3 separate regions of the Homo sapiens genome follow, and all the other regions are linked to region 1. The links are contacts of gene promoters, found by promoter capture Hi-C in blood cells and fetal thymus (Javierre and others, 2016). All regions are on one chromosome and are shown on one strand. The core of a region is centred on a gene start or on the middle of the fragment in contact, and the rest is flanking DNA. Distances in the headings are between cores, read along the strand shown.

Region 1 (3,580 bases), core at 792-3,291:
ATAACCTACTTTACAGAGTGGTCAGCCTCAATGCTAATTACAATTACCATTCACCAAGAATTTCCCGTGTGCCACACACGTGAACTAACCATTTCATTCTGTGATTTTCTCCATGTCACAGATGAGATCAAGACACAAAATTTAAATAAATTGTCCAAGATTACATTGCTGACAACTAGAAAAACCTTGCCTTAAAGCCAAGATAACTCCCAAGATAGTATCAGCATCCCCATGTCAAACAATCTTTCTAGCTAGAGTCCAGTTTGTTCAGTTCTTCTAAAACCCATGCTATCCCAACTTAATCCAGCCTGCCTTCAAAAAAGCAGAGGTTGGGCCGGGCGCGGTGGCTCACGCCTGTAATCCCAGCACTTTGGGAGGCTGAGGCGGGCGAATCACGAGGTCAGAAGTCAGAGACCAGTCTGGCTAAAACGGTGAAACCCCGTCTCTACTAAAAAATACAAAAAATTAGCCGGGTGTGGTGGCGGACGCCTGTAGTCCCAGCTACTTGGGAGGCTGAGGCAGGAGAATGGCGTGGACCCGGGAGGCAGAGCTTGCAGTGAGCTGAGAATGCGCCACTGCACTCCAGCCTGGGCGACAGAGCGAGACTGTCTCAAAAAAAAAAAAAAAAAAAAGCAGAGGTTGAGGACCCAGAAGGCTCAGCCCCAAAGACCATAAACACAAAAGGGCTTTCTCTGCATTATTTACACGCCAATCTAGTCCAAGATAGCCCTGAATGTCCCAAATTACCCTAGGATAGCCCAATCTATTCTAGCACAGCCTACAATGCCCCCACACGCAGCTGTCTGCACCAGTCTAGATTGGAACATCCCAATACGGCTGCCTGTGCTAGCACAGGCCCCAACAGCCTTGTCTGCCCCTATACCGAGTGCTCCAATAAAACCAAGTCTTGCCCCAAGAGAAACCAGGATTAACCAATACAACCCAGTAGAGTCCATAATGGCCCAAGTGTTTTTTGTTTTTTTTCTGAGACGGAGTCTCGCACTGTCGCCCAGGCTGGAGTGCAGTGGCGCGATCTCGGCTCACTGCAACCTCCGCCTCCCAGGTTCAAGAGATTCTCCCTGCTTCAGCCACCCAAGTAGCTGGGACTACAGGCGCGTGCCCCCACGCCCGGCTAATTTTTTGTATTTTTAGTTAGTAGAGATGGGGTTTCACCGTGTTAGCCAGGATGGCCTCGATCTCCTGACCTCGTGATCCGCCCGCCTCAGCCTCCCAAAGTGCTGGGATTACAGGCGTTACAGGACTCCTGAGAACGTACTAAACAACCAGACAATGGATCAATTTACTCAGTACAGACTAGAATACTCCAACATAAACCAGTATGCCCCCACCTATTCCAGTAAAGCCTAATCTTGTCTAATCTGGTTTAGGATATCCTAGTCTGTCCGTGTGCCTCAATCTATCCAAGCATAACCTTGTCCATCCTGGGATAGTCAACCTACCTCAGCATAGTACAATCTGCTCCACCATAGGCCAGAAAATCCCAGTGTGGCCCAAAGTAGACGTGTGCCCCTCCATGTCGCCCAATCCACTCTAGCAAAGCCCCCGCCGGTCCTATCTAGGCCTTGCGCTCACCCGAAATCCTGATCCATAGACTTGAAAAAGTACTTGGCGCCCGCGGGCCGCTGCAGGACGCTCTTGAAATCGCCGAGGGTGATGCGCTCGGCGGGGACAGGGATCTTCACCAGGTAGGGAGTCTCTTCCTCATCCAGGTGGTAAATCACCTTCGTCTCCCCAACCCCACCGCCCCCAGTGCTGCTACCCGCCATGGTCTCGCCCGCGCGCTCCCGGGCTCCACCGCCCACCCAAAGGGCTAATGGCCCCTGCCGCGCCTGCGCACACCCGCAAACCGACGCGCGAGCGCGGACAGGACTGACCCAGTACGGGAGAGAAGCAAAGGGGAAAAAGCACGGATCTGCGAGGGTGGCGGCGGGGGGCGGGCCGCGGGGTGCGACTCAAAGCCCCGGTCTCAGCGGCCGCCGCGCGCCACCGCCACCGACGCCGCGAGCTTCCTCCAGGTACCCGCCCACCTCTCCTCATGTCACGTGACTTAAAGGCAGCCACCCCGCGCTCCTCAGCCGCCCTCCGTCACGTGATCCCCTCCCAATCACGTGACCGTCTGACTCCGCCTAGTGCCCCCGCCACATGATCGCTGCCTTCAGCAACGGTCTCCCAGCCCCCAAACGTGTACCCCAGCCGAGGTCCTCTGAGCACCCAGGCTAAGCTGGCCTGTGCCTTCAGGAAACGGACCATCGGCTCCCACCCCGCTTTACCCCACCCACGATGGAGCACGAAGCAACTCTGACCCGCAGGAGTGTGCGTGCAGGGAGTGAAGGTGGGGACTGTGGGGGTTCCTAGACTCGAGTGGGGAGGGCCAAATACAATGAAAGCTCTAAGGTGGCTTACTTGTCTTGGGGTGGGAAAGGCCCAGTGCTGTGATATCTTCAGATTGGACTTTGAGACGTGGGTTTCAGCCCCACCTCCAGCTAGTCTTCAGCCACCAAAGCCTCCCTCCCGAGCAGGACAGTGAGGGCTATAAACACAAAAGAGCCCACTCTGCTTTATTTACAACACGCAGGCTGTCTGTACAAACAGCGGCCGATATTATTAAAAACAAAAGAGGTGAGTGAGAATCGTCACCTTTCTGCTTTCCTTCCTCACTTGGCCAGGCTCTAGTACTCCACCTTTGAGCTGCCATGCCCAATAGGGGAAGTCCAAAATTAAAAATACAACCGGTGTAGAAGAAAATAAATGGGGAGTGAAATAGAAGAAAAGATGAGGGAGGGGAGTGCTAATATTTACACTAGAGTTTTATAGACAACTGTCCCATTCCATCCCAATTCCAATCCTGACCCAGAAAGTGATGGTGGCAGGTCCAAGAGACAGAGATTATGTGTCGGGACACAGACAGCCTCCCATCCCCAACCGTAATGGATTCAATTTCAAGTCCACAGAGTGGGGAGGAAGGATAGGGTGGGAAAGTGAGACACTCATTTTCAAACAAGTCTCCCTTGAGAATTCCTGCCTTGAAGTGCAGACAGTATCCAAGCTCCAGGGGATAGGCTGAGGACCCTGAGGCTCAGTTCCCAAATCATGTTGTCATTTGGAAGTTCCAGGCTAAAGTTGGTGCCATCAGGGCTCTCCAGATTTGGGAGGCCCCCCTAACCGCCGGGCCTCTGGCCTCAGTTCCTTGCATTTCTGGCAATAAAAGAAGTCGGGGACGTTGGTCTTCTTAATCTTAGCACAGGAGAGGTGGATCCACGTCCCACACAGGCTGCACTCAATCATGGGCCGCCCTGCAAAGGGCTTTCGACAGTAACATGTGATCAGATCCCATGAGTCATCACCTGGGGAAAAAAAGGTTTGTTTGGTATTCTGCCTGAGCTGTTGGATCCACAACACCCTCAAACCCCTCGCCCCAGCCCGAACCTCTCACCTGATTCTACCATGATGTCCTCGTCCATGACCCGCATCTCGCCTTCACTGGAGCTGGCATCTCCATCTTGGCTTGTTTCAGTGCTGCCCACCTCCTTGCTTTCACTGTCAGCAGGAGGGACTCCTT
Region 2 (3,580 bases), core at 303-2,802, 360 kb after region 1:
CTCTCTTCTCTGACTCAGTCTCTGAAGCTGTAGACACATCTGAGCTGGGGCCTGAAGAACACAATGGGATTTATTCACGGCCATTCATCCCACCTCAGGATCCATCACATCCCCCAAACTGGAAGAATTCTCCTTCTCACTCACAAGCCTCCCAGCCAATCAATCACTTTTTCATCATCTCCATTCCAGATTTCCCCAAACTTCCATCCAGACCTCTGCCTCTACCCACAAGCCCTGCCACTCCTTGCCTCCTGTTCCCATAACTGTCTCACCATAGGCAGGACCGCCTGTCCTCCGGCCACGGCCACGGCCCCCATAGCTGCCCCCATAGGTTCGAGTCGCATGGAGGGAGGAGGAGGAGCTCTCATCAGTGCTATATCCAGCCTTGTCGCTGCCACCGCTGCCCCGCCCACTCCCAGGAGGGCGAAAGCCCAGCCCAATCTGCCGAAGCTGCTCATCAATTTGTAGCCTCTCCAAGCGAAGCTGCTCTACCTCCTGGTTGGGTAAAAGATGGAAGAAGGGGAAGGAGAAATAAGATCAGTGCCTTGCTTCATGCTTCTGCACCCTGACTGTCCCTCTATATCTAACCTCTCAGGAATGCAGGGAGAAGGAAGACACTGGCTAAACAAGGAAAATTCTGGGACCCAACCCTATAGCCCCAAATTTCCACAGATGTTTTCTGTTCTACACGGAGAGACAAACAGAGAACCAAAATCCCTGAGCTGACCCCCACAGCAGTCTTAGTTCCCTTTTCACACCCAGCATTTTTCTCTCCCGGCCTGGGTACCTGCAGGTAGGAGAGGTGATACTCCAGCAAAGCCTGGGCATTGCTGATGTTCTCTCGGGTGCCAACAAAAATGAAGGGAACCATTCCCTAGAGAACAGAGAGCAGAAACGATGGATCAGAAAGGAAAATGAAATGGAAGGATTAACGCCGCCCAGTCTCCTAGGGGAGCCTGCCCAGTGGGATCATTCTGGGCTCTAAATCTACTAGTGTTAAACAACTTTCCGTACTCCACCCTCTCAAAGAACAATCCCAGCCCTCAGAGGACAATCCCATTTACTTCTGGAAACCAATCTCTATGCCCACTTGCCCCGTACCCATACCTCCTCCCTGGGGTTCTTCTTGTCATTATCACCTTCCACTCGAACCCTCACCACACCAGATTTATCCACAATCTCCTGGATCACTTTCCCGTTCTTTCCAATCACTTTGCCTGGAATAGGTAAATGAGGAATTCAGCCTTTTATTTTTTTTAAGGAAATAAGAATAAAGCTGATACACCGTCTTCCAGCCTCATTTTCTTTATATGGATTCCATTTACTTCATTCTCCTGCTTCTAGGTTTCTGATGTGTTTTTACAGGACAAAATGTTACAATCCCTAGAAATTTATTCTTTCATTTTTATCACTCCCATTACAGACTGTTTCTCTGTCCTTGTGAAACTGGGAGTCCACAGGGAGGTGCCAATCCTGGATAAAAGCTCAGAATCACTGTAGAGAATCTTGATTCTGACCTCTAACTGTATATACACACCACCAACTCACCAACCAGGTTCCTGGGCACTTGCACTGAGTCCTCAGAAAACTCAAGGTAGCTTCGGGCCTGTCGGCAAGCCTCGGGAGTCTAAAGGAAGAACAGCAGGGAGTTGTTACTAAAACAGAAGACCAGCTGGATGTGGTGGCTCACGCCTGTAATCCCAGCACTTTGGGAGGCTGGAGGCAGGTGGATAAATTGAGCTCAAGAGTTCAAGACTAGCCTGGGCAATATGGTGAAACGCCATCTCTACTAAAAATACAAAAATCAAAATACAAAAATACTAAAATACTAAAAATACAAAATTGGTGGCTCACGTCTCTAATCCCAGCTACTCCGGAGGCTGAGGCAGGAGATTTCTTGAACCCAGGAGGCAGAGGTTGCAATAAGCTGAGATTGTGCCACTGCACTCTAGCCCGGGCAACAGAGTGAGTTAGACTCCATCTCATAAAAAAAAAAAATTAAACAAATAAATAACTTAAAAAAAAAAACAGAGGACCTTGGCCAGGCACAGCGGCTCACACCCATAATCTCAACAGTTTCGGAGGCTAAGAAGGGAGGATTGCTTGAGGCTAGGAGTTAACAACCAGCTTGGGCAACAGAGATCTGGTCTATTTTTTTGATTTTTTGGTCTCACTCTATTGACTATGTTGCCCAGGTTGGTTCAGTGGCACCATCATGGTGTACTGCAGCCTTGACTTTCCAGGCTCAAGTGATCCTCCTGCCTCCGCCTCCCAAGTAGCCAAGTAGCTGGGGCCACAGATGCATGCCACCACGCTCAGTTAACGTTTTTTGGTTTTTGGTTTTTTTGGGGGGTAAAGACAGGGTCTCTCTATGTTGTCCAGGTTGTTCTCCAACTCCCAGGCTCAAGTGATCCTCCCCTCTATCTTCCCATTTCAGCCTCCCAAGTACCTGCGACTACAGGTACGCACCACTACTTCCAGCTAATTTTTAAATTTTTGTAGAGATTGGGTCTCACTATGTTGCACAGGCTGGTCTCAAACTCCTAGGCTCAAGTGATCCTCTCACTTTGACCTCCGAAGGTGCTGGGATTACAGGTGTGAGCCACTGTGCCCAGTTTGAGGCTTATTTTCTACTTCGGCCTCTCTTCCCTCTATCCCCTAAGAGACCCAGAAGAAAGACATCCTTTGCTGACCTCCCCATAGATGCGGAAAGTGCAGGTCTCTTCACCCAACTCAATGGCGGTCACCCCAGGTACTTTTCGGGCCTGCTGGATGTTGGCACCGTGAGTCCCAATTGCCAGTCCCATCAGGTCCTCTCGCACTGTGAACTCCTCTTGGAAGGCTGCTGCCAACTGCTTGCTTGTCTGAAAGGAAAAGTCACTGTAGGAATCATGGTGGTAGAATCTCACAGTCCCAGGCACACGACCCTTTGCATAACTTAAATAAGGAAAACTGTGTGATATTAATAGAAAGCTAGAACCACTCTGGAGTCCGCGGACCACGAGGACCTGTGTGGAAAGGTCAGGAACTTTTTGTTTTTTCTTTGAGATGGCGTCTCGCTCTGTCGCCCAGGCTGGAGTGCAGTGGCGCGATCTCAGCTCACTGCAACCTCCGCCTCTCGACTTCAAGTGATTCTCATGCCTCGGCCTCCTGAGTAGCTACGACTACAGGTGTCCACCACCATGCCTGGCTAATTTCTGTATTTTTAGTAGAGACAAGGTTTCACCATGTTGGCCAGGCTGGTCTCAAACTCCTGACCTCAGGTGATCCGCCCGCCTCAGCCTCCCAAAGTGCTGGGATTACCGGCATAAGCCACCACGCCCGGCCAAGGTCAGGAACTTTTAATTCCACTCCTTCCAAATACCAGTGGTTTGTGGGGGAGGAAAGGTAAAGAGGGCAGAGTTTGGACTGGGACACACCGAAGTTCTGGATTTGGCCCTAACAGTATCTGTCCCTAAGAGTATCTATCTGTGTGATCTTAAACAAAACATACTCTGCCTCTTGTGTCATCTGCTAAGTGATTATATCCAACTTATCTTATTCTCAAGACTAGCAAGAGGATTAGACAAGGCTGGTGTGA
Region 3 (3,580 bases), core at 1-2,500, 320 kb after region 1:
TCCATCCCACATAAATACAGTATTCCCACTCTTATCTTACAACTCCCCCACCGCCCACTCTCCACCTCACTAGCTCCCCAATCCCTGACCCTTTGAGGCCCCCAGTGATCTCGACTCCCCCCTGGCCACAGACCCCCAGGGCATTGTGTTCACTGTACTCTGTGGGCAAGGATGGGTCCAGAAGACCCCACTTCAGGCACTAAGAGGGGCTGGACCTGGCGGCAGGAAGCCAAAGAGACTGGGCCTAGGCCAGGAGTTCCCAAATGTGAGGGGCGAGAAACAAGACAAGCTCCTCCCTTGAGAATTCCCTGTGGATTTTTAAAACAGATATTATTTTTATTATTATTGTGACAAAATGTTGATAAATGGATATTAAATAGAATAAGTCATAGTCTCTCTCTTTATTGGGGCTCAGGGGACACTCTCAGGGTAGCTGGGGGCCACGTGAAGGGGGGCGTTGCGGAGCGGCACAGCTGGAACTCCGGGATGATGTTCAGGCTTGGGGGCGGGGACCTCCATGCCTCCAGCCCCCAGGTGGGAGCAGAGGTAGGAAGGCACACTGCCCAGGAAAAAAATCAATCCTCCGCCCAAGGTACAGCAGAAGCGGCCTCCTTGGCCTAGGAGGCAGACTTCCTCCTGCGGGGAAATCCCTTCCTGGCTGGGAGGAGCAGGGGCCCTTCCTCTTGGTGGCCTCGGACATTCAGCAGGTGCTGGCACAGGCCCTGGCTGGGAGGTGGGGCGGGCAGGAGCCAGCCTGGAGGAGGGGCTGAGAGTCAGCAGGCACACGGGAACCCGGAACCCTGTGTGCTGGGGAGGAATCCCGCAGTGGCCGGGGGGCTTGAGGCCGCTGCTTTGTCTCTTCGTCCAGAGCCTTATGTAAGAGCTTTTCTCGGGAAACAGGAAGTCCTGCTTGCCAATTTCAGCACAGGGAGTAGTGCAGGCCTTATTCCAACACACCCGGCCCAGCCTTAACCCCAGAACTCAGCCAGTTTCTTGCTTCCGTGCCCCTGGTTCTCCTCCCCATCGAGCCCACCCCTCCTTTCCCACCTTCAGTCACCCCTAGTGAACTGCCCCAGCGATCTCTGCTGTGCTTGACCCCGAGGGTCTTCCACCCTCGCCCTGACCCTGGACACTGCCCAGCTTGGCCCCCCATCCTGCTCCTGGCACAATGCCCTCTAGCCAGCCAACCTTCCCTCCCCCAACCCTGGGGCCGCCCCAGGGTTCCTGCGCACTGCCTGTTCCTCCTGGGTGTCACTGGCAGCCCTGTCCTTCCTAGAGGGACTGGAACCTAATTCTCCTGAGGCTGAGGGAGGGTGGAGGGTCTCAAGGCAACGCTGGCCCCACGACGGAGTGCCAGGAGCACTAACAGTACCCTTAGCTTGCTTTCCTCCTCCCTCCTTTTTATTTTCAAGTTCCTTTTTATTTCTCCTTGCGTAACAACCTTCTTCCCTTCTGCACCACTGCCCGTACCCTTACCCGCCCCGCCACCTCCTTGCTACCCCACTCTTGAAACCACAGCTGTTGGCAGGGTCCCCAGCTCATGCCAGCCTCATCTCCTTTCTTGCTAGCCCCCAAAGGGCCTCCAGGCAACATGGGGGGCCCAGTCAGAGAGCCGGCACTCTCAGTTGCCCTCTGGTTGAGTTGGGGGGCAGCTCTGGGGGCCGTGGCTTGTGCCATGGCTCTGCTGACCCAACAAACAGAGCTGCAGAGCCTCAGGAGAGAGGTGAGCCGGCTGCAGGGGACAGGAGGCCCCTCCCAGAATGGGGAAGGGTATCCCTGGCAGAGTCTCCCGGAGCAGGTGAGTGAGGGGAGGAGGGTGTCTGGGAGAGGATGGTTAGCATGGGGGGTCTCTGGGCCTCCTGGTCTGCAAAGTTTCAAGGGGGTGCAAGAGAGGGTCTCCGGTTTGGAAGTCAGGGGCGCGGCCATTCCAGGAAAGGAAACTGTTAAAGGTTAATGCTTCTCATACCTAACAAATCCTGGAGGGCAGCCAGCACCAACACTCAGGGTGCTGGGAAAAGGTGCGTGAGAGATCTGAGGCATCTCGGGGGCAGGGGAGGGCTGGGAAGGCAGGCTGGCTGGGACCCTCGCATCTTAACCTAACCTTGACCCTCTTTCCATGAGCAGAGTTCCGATGCCCTGGAAGCCTGGGAGAATGGGGAGAGATCCCGGAAAAGGAGAGCAGTGCTCACCCAAAAACAGAAGAGTGAGGCTTCCAGGGTGCAGCAGGGGTGGGAGGTGATCAAGCAGCGTGGGGATTGTAAGCCCGAGTCAGGGTGAGGGTGGAGGCTGCCAACAGCACAACGGGGGAAAGTGGATGCGGCTGAGATTCCCTCCTTCTCTCCTCAGAGCAGCACTCTGTCCTGCACCTGGTTCCCATTAACGCCACCTCCAAGGGTGAGCACTATTTTAAATAATGGCTTTGGGGAGGGGCAATAACCAGGAACTCGGGCTGGCACTTGGGCTCAAGGGGTCCTTATAGGTGAAAGGGAAAGAACCAAAAAGCACCTGAGAGTGCCAAGAAGTCCTGACCGACACACTCTCACCTCCAGATGACTCCGATGTGACAGAGGTGATGTGGCAACCAGCTCTTAGGCGTGGGAGAGGCCTACAGGCCCAAGGATATGGTGTCCGAATCCAGGATGCTGGAGTTTATCTGCTGTATAGCCAGGTAACCCCAGCCACACTCTGAGCTTCACAGAGGGCCTCTTTGGCCCCCTACTGAGGGTTCCTGACCCCTCTATTCATACCAAACCCAGCAGACCCTTCTTTCTTCCCTCGTTAGCGCTCCTGAGGCCTCCCAGAACTGAGCCAGGCCATCCTGTTTTCTTCAACATCTCCCTTCCCTGCCAGGTCCTGTTTCAAGACGTGACTTTCACCATGGGTCAGGTGGTGTCTCGAGAAGGCCAAGGAAGGCAGGAGACTCTATTCCGATGTATAAGAAGTATGCCCTCCCACCCGGACCGGGCCTACAACAGCTGCTATAGCGCAGGTGAGAGCCGTGTGGGCAGCCGAAAGCAGGACGTCTCTGACCGGGGGTAGCAGTGCAGGGAGCTACCGCTAGGAGGGAGGTTGGAAACCTAAACAGAGGCGGGTCTGAGGAGTGAAGTGCAGAATGCCGGGTCCTTACAGGAGGCAGAGGAACGGTGGAGCTGGAGAAGGCAGGGGGAAACAGGGCATCTGGATGGCTGTGCTTCACTGCGAATCTACTTTCTCTCTTTTCTCAGGTGTCTTCCATTTACACCAAGGGGATATTCTGAGTGTCATAATTCCCCGGGCAAGGGCGAAACTTAACCTCTCTCCACATGGAACCTTCCTGGGGTTTGTGAAACTGTGATTGTGTTATAAAAAGTGGCTCCCAGCTTGGAAGACCAGGGTGGGTACATACTGGAGACAGCCAAGAGCTGAGTATATAAAGGAGAGGGAATGTGCAGGAACAGAGGCGTCTTCCTGGGTTTGGCTCCCCGTTCCTCACTTTTCCCTTTTCATTCCCACCCCCTAGACTTTGATTTTACGGATATCTTGCTTCTGTTCCCCATGGAGCTCCGAATTCTTGCGTGTGTGTAGATGAGGGGCGGGGGAC

What was found. The method cuts DNA at HindIII sites, captures the fragments that hold promoters and counts their contacts. A CHiCAGO score of 5 or more calls a contact.
Region 2: a contact is called between a fragment that was not itself captured here and the fragment with the promoter of DVL2 in region 1, in 10 of 17 cell types (total B cells, naive B cells, non-activated CD4 T cells and 7 more). The highest score is 8.1, in total B cells.
Region 3: a contact is called between the fragment with the promoter of TNFSF13 here and the fragment with the promoter of DVL2 in region 1, in 6 of 17 cell types (naive B cells, fetal thymus, non-activated CD4 T cells and 3 more). The highest score is 6.4, in naive B cells.

What each region holds. Positions count from the first base shown.
Region 1 is chr17:7,232,476-7,236,055 of GRCh38, forward strand. It overlaps DVL2 (dishevelled segment polarity protein 2), which reads right to left and starts at 2,042. Exons shown (of 15, transcript NM_004422.3): 1 at 1,594-2,042. The coding sequence starts at 1,787. PHF23 (PHD finger protein 23) reads right to left here. Exons shown (of 5, transcript NM_024297.3): 4 at 3,455-3,580; 5 at 2,563-3,365. The coding sequence ends at 3,151. RefSeq lists a silencer at 1,780-2,079 and an enhancer at 2,190-2,239. The HindIII fragment of the contact is 14,867 bases long and covers 1-3,580 here.
Region 2 is chr17:7,593,131-7,596,710 of GRCh38, forward strand. FXR2 (FMR1 autosomal homolog 2) reads right to left here. Exons shown (of 17, transcript NM_004860.4): 8 at 2,694-2,864; 9 at 1,549-1,627; 10 at 1,108-1,217; 11 at 788-874; 12 at 273-495; 13 at 1-51. Among named protein-coding and RNA genes, the nearest start is that of SOX15, 4.8 kb to the left of the region's middle. The HindIII fragment of the contact is 5,554 bases long and covers 1-3,580 here.
Region 3 is chr17:7,557,500-7,561,079 of GRCh38, forward strand. TNFSF13 (TNF superfamily member 13) reads left to right here and starts at 1,251. Exons shown (of 6, transcript NM_003808.4): 1 at 1,251-1,798; 2 at 2,125-2,203; 3 at 2,347-2,394; 4 at 2,550-2,668; 5 at 2,851-2,989; 6 at 3,225-3,580. The coding sequence starts at 1,541. The coding sequence ends at 3,334. It overlaps TNFSF12-TNFSF13 (TNFSF12-TNFSF13 readthrough), which reads left to right. Exons shown (of 11, transcript NM_172089.4): 7 at 2,125-2,203; 8 at 2,347-2,394; 9 at 2,550-2,668; 10 at 2,851-2,989; 11 at 3,225-3,580. The coding sequence ends at 3,334. TNFSF12 (TNF superfamily member 12) reads left to right here. Exons shown (of 7, transcript NM_003809.3): 7 at 1-382. RefSeq lists enhancers at 1-794, 380-439, 1,250-1,299. The HindIII fragment of the contact is 8,242 bases long and covers 1-3,580 here.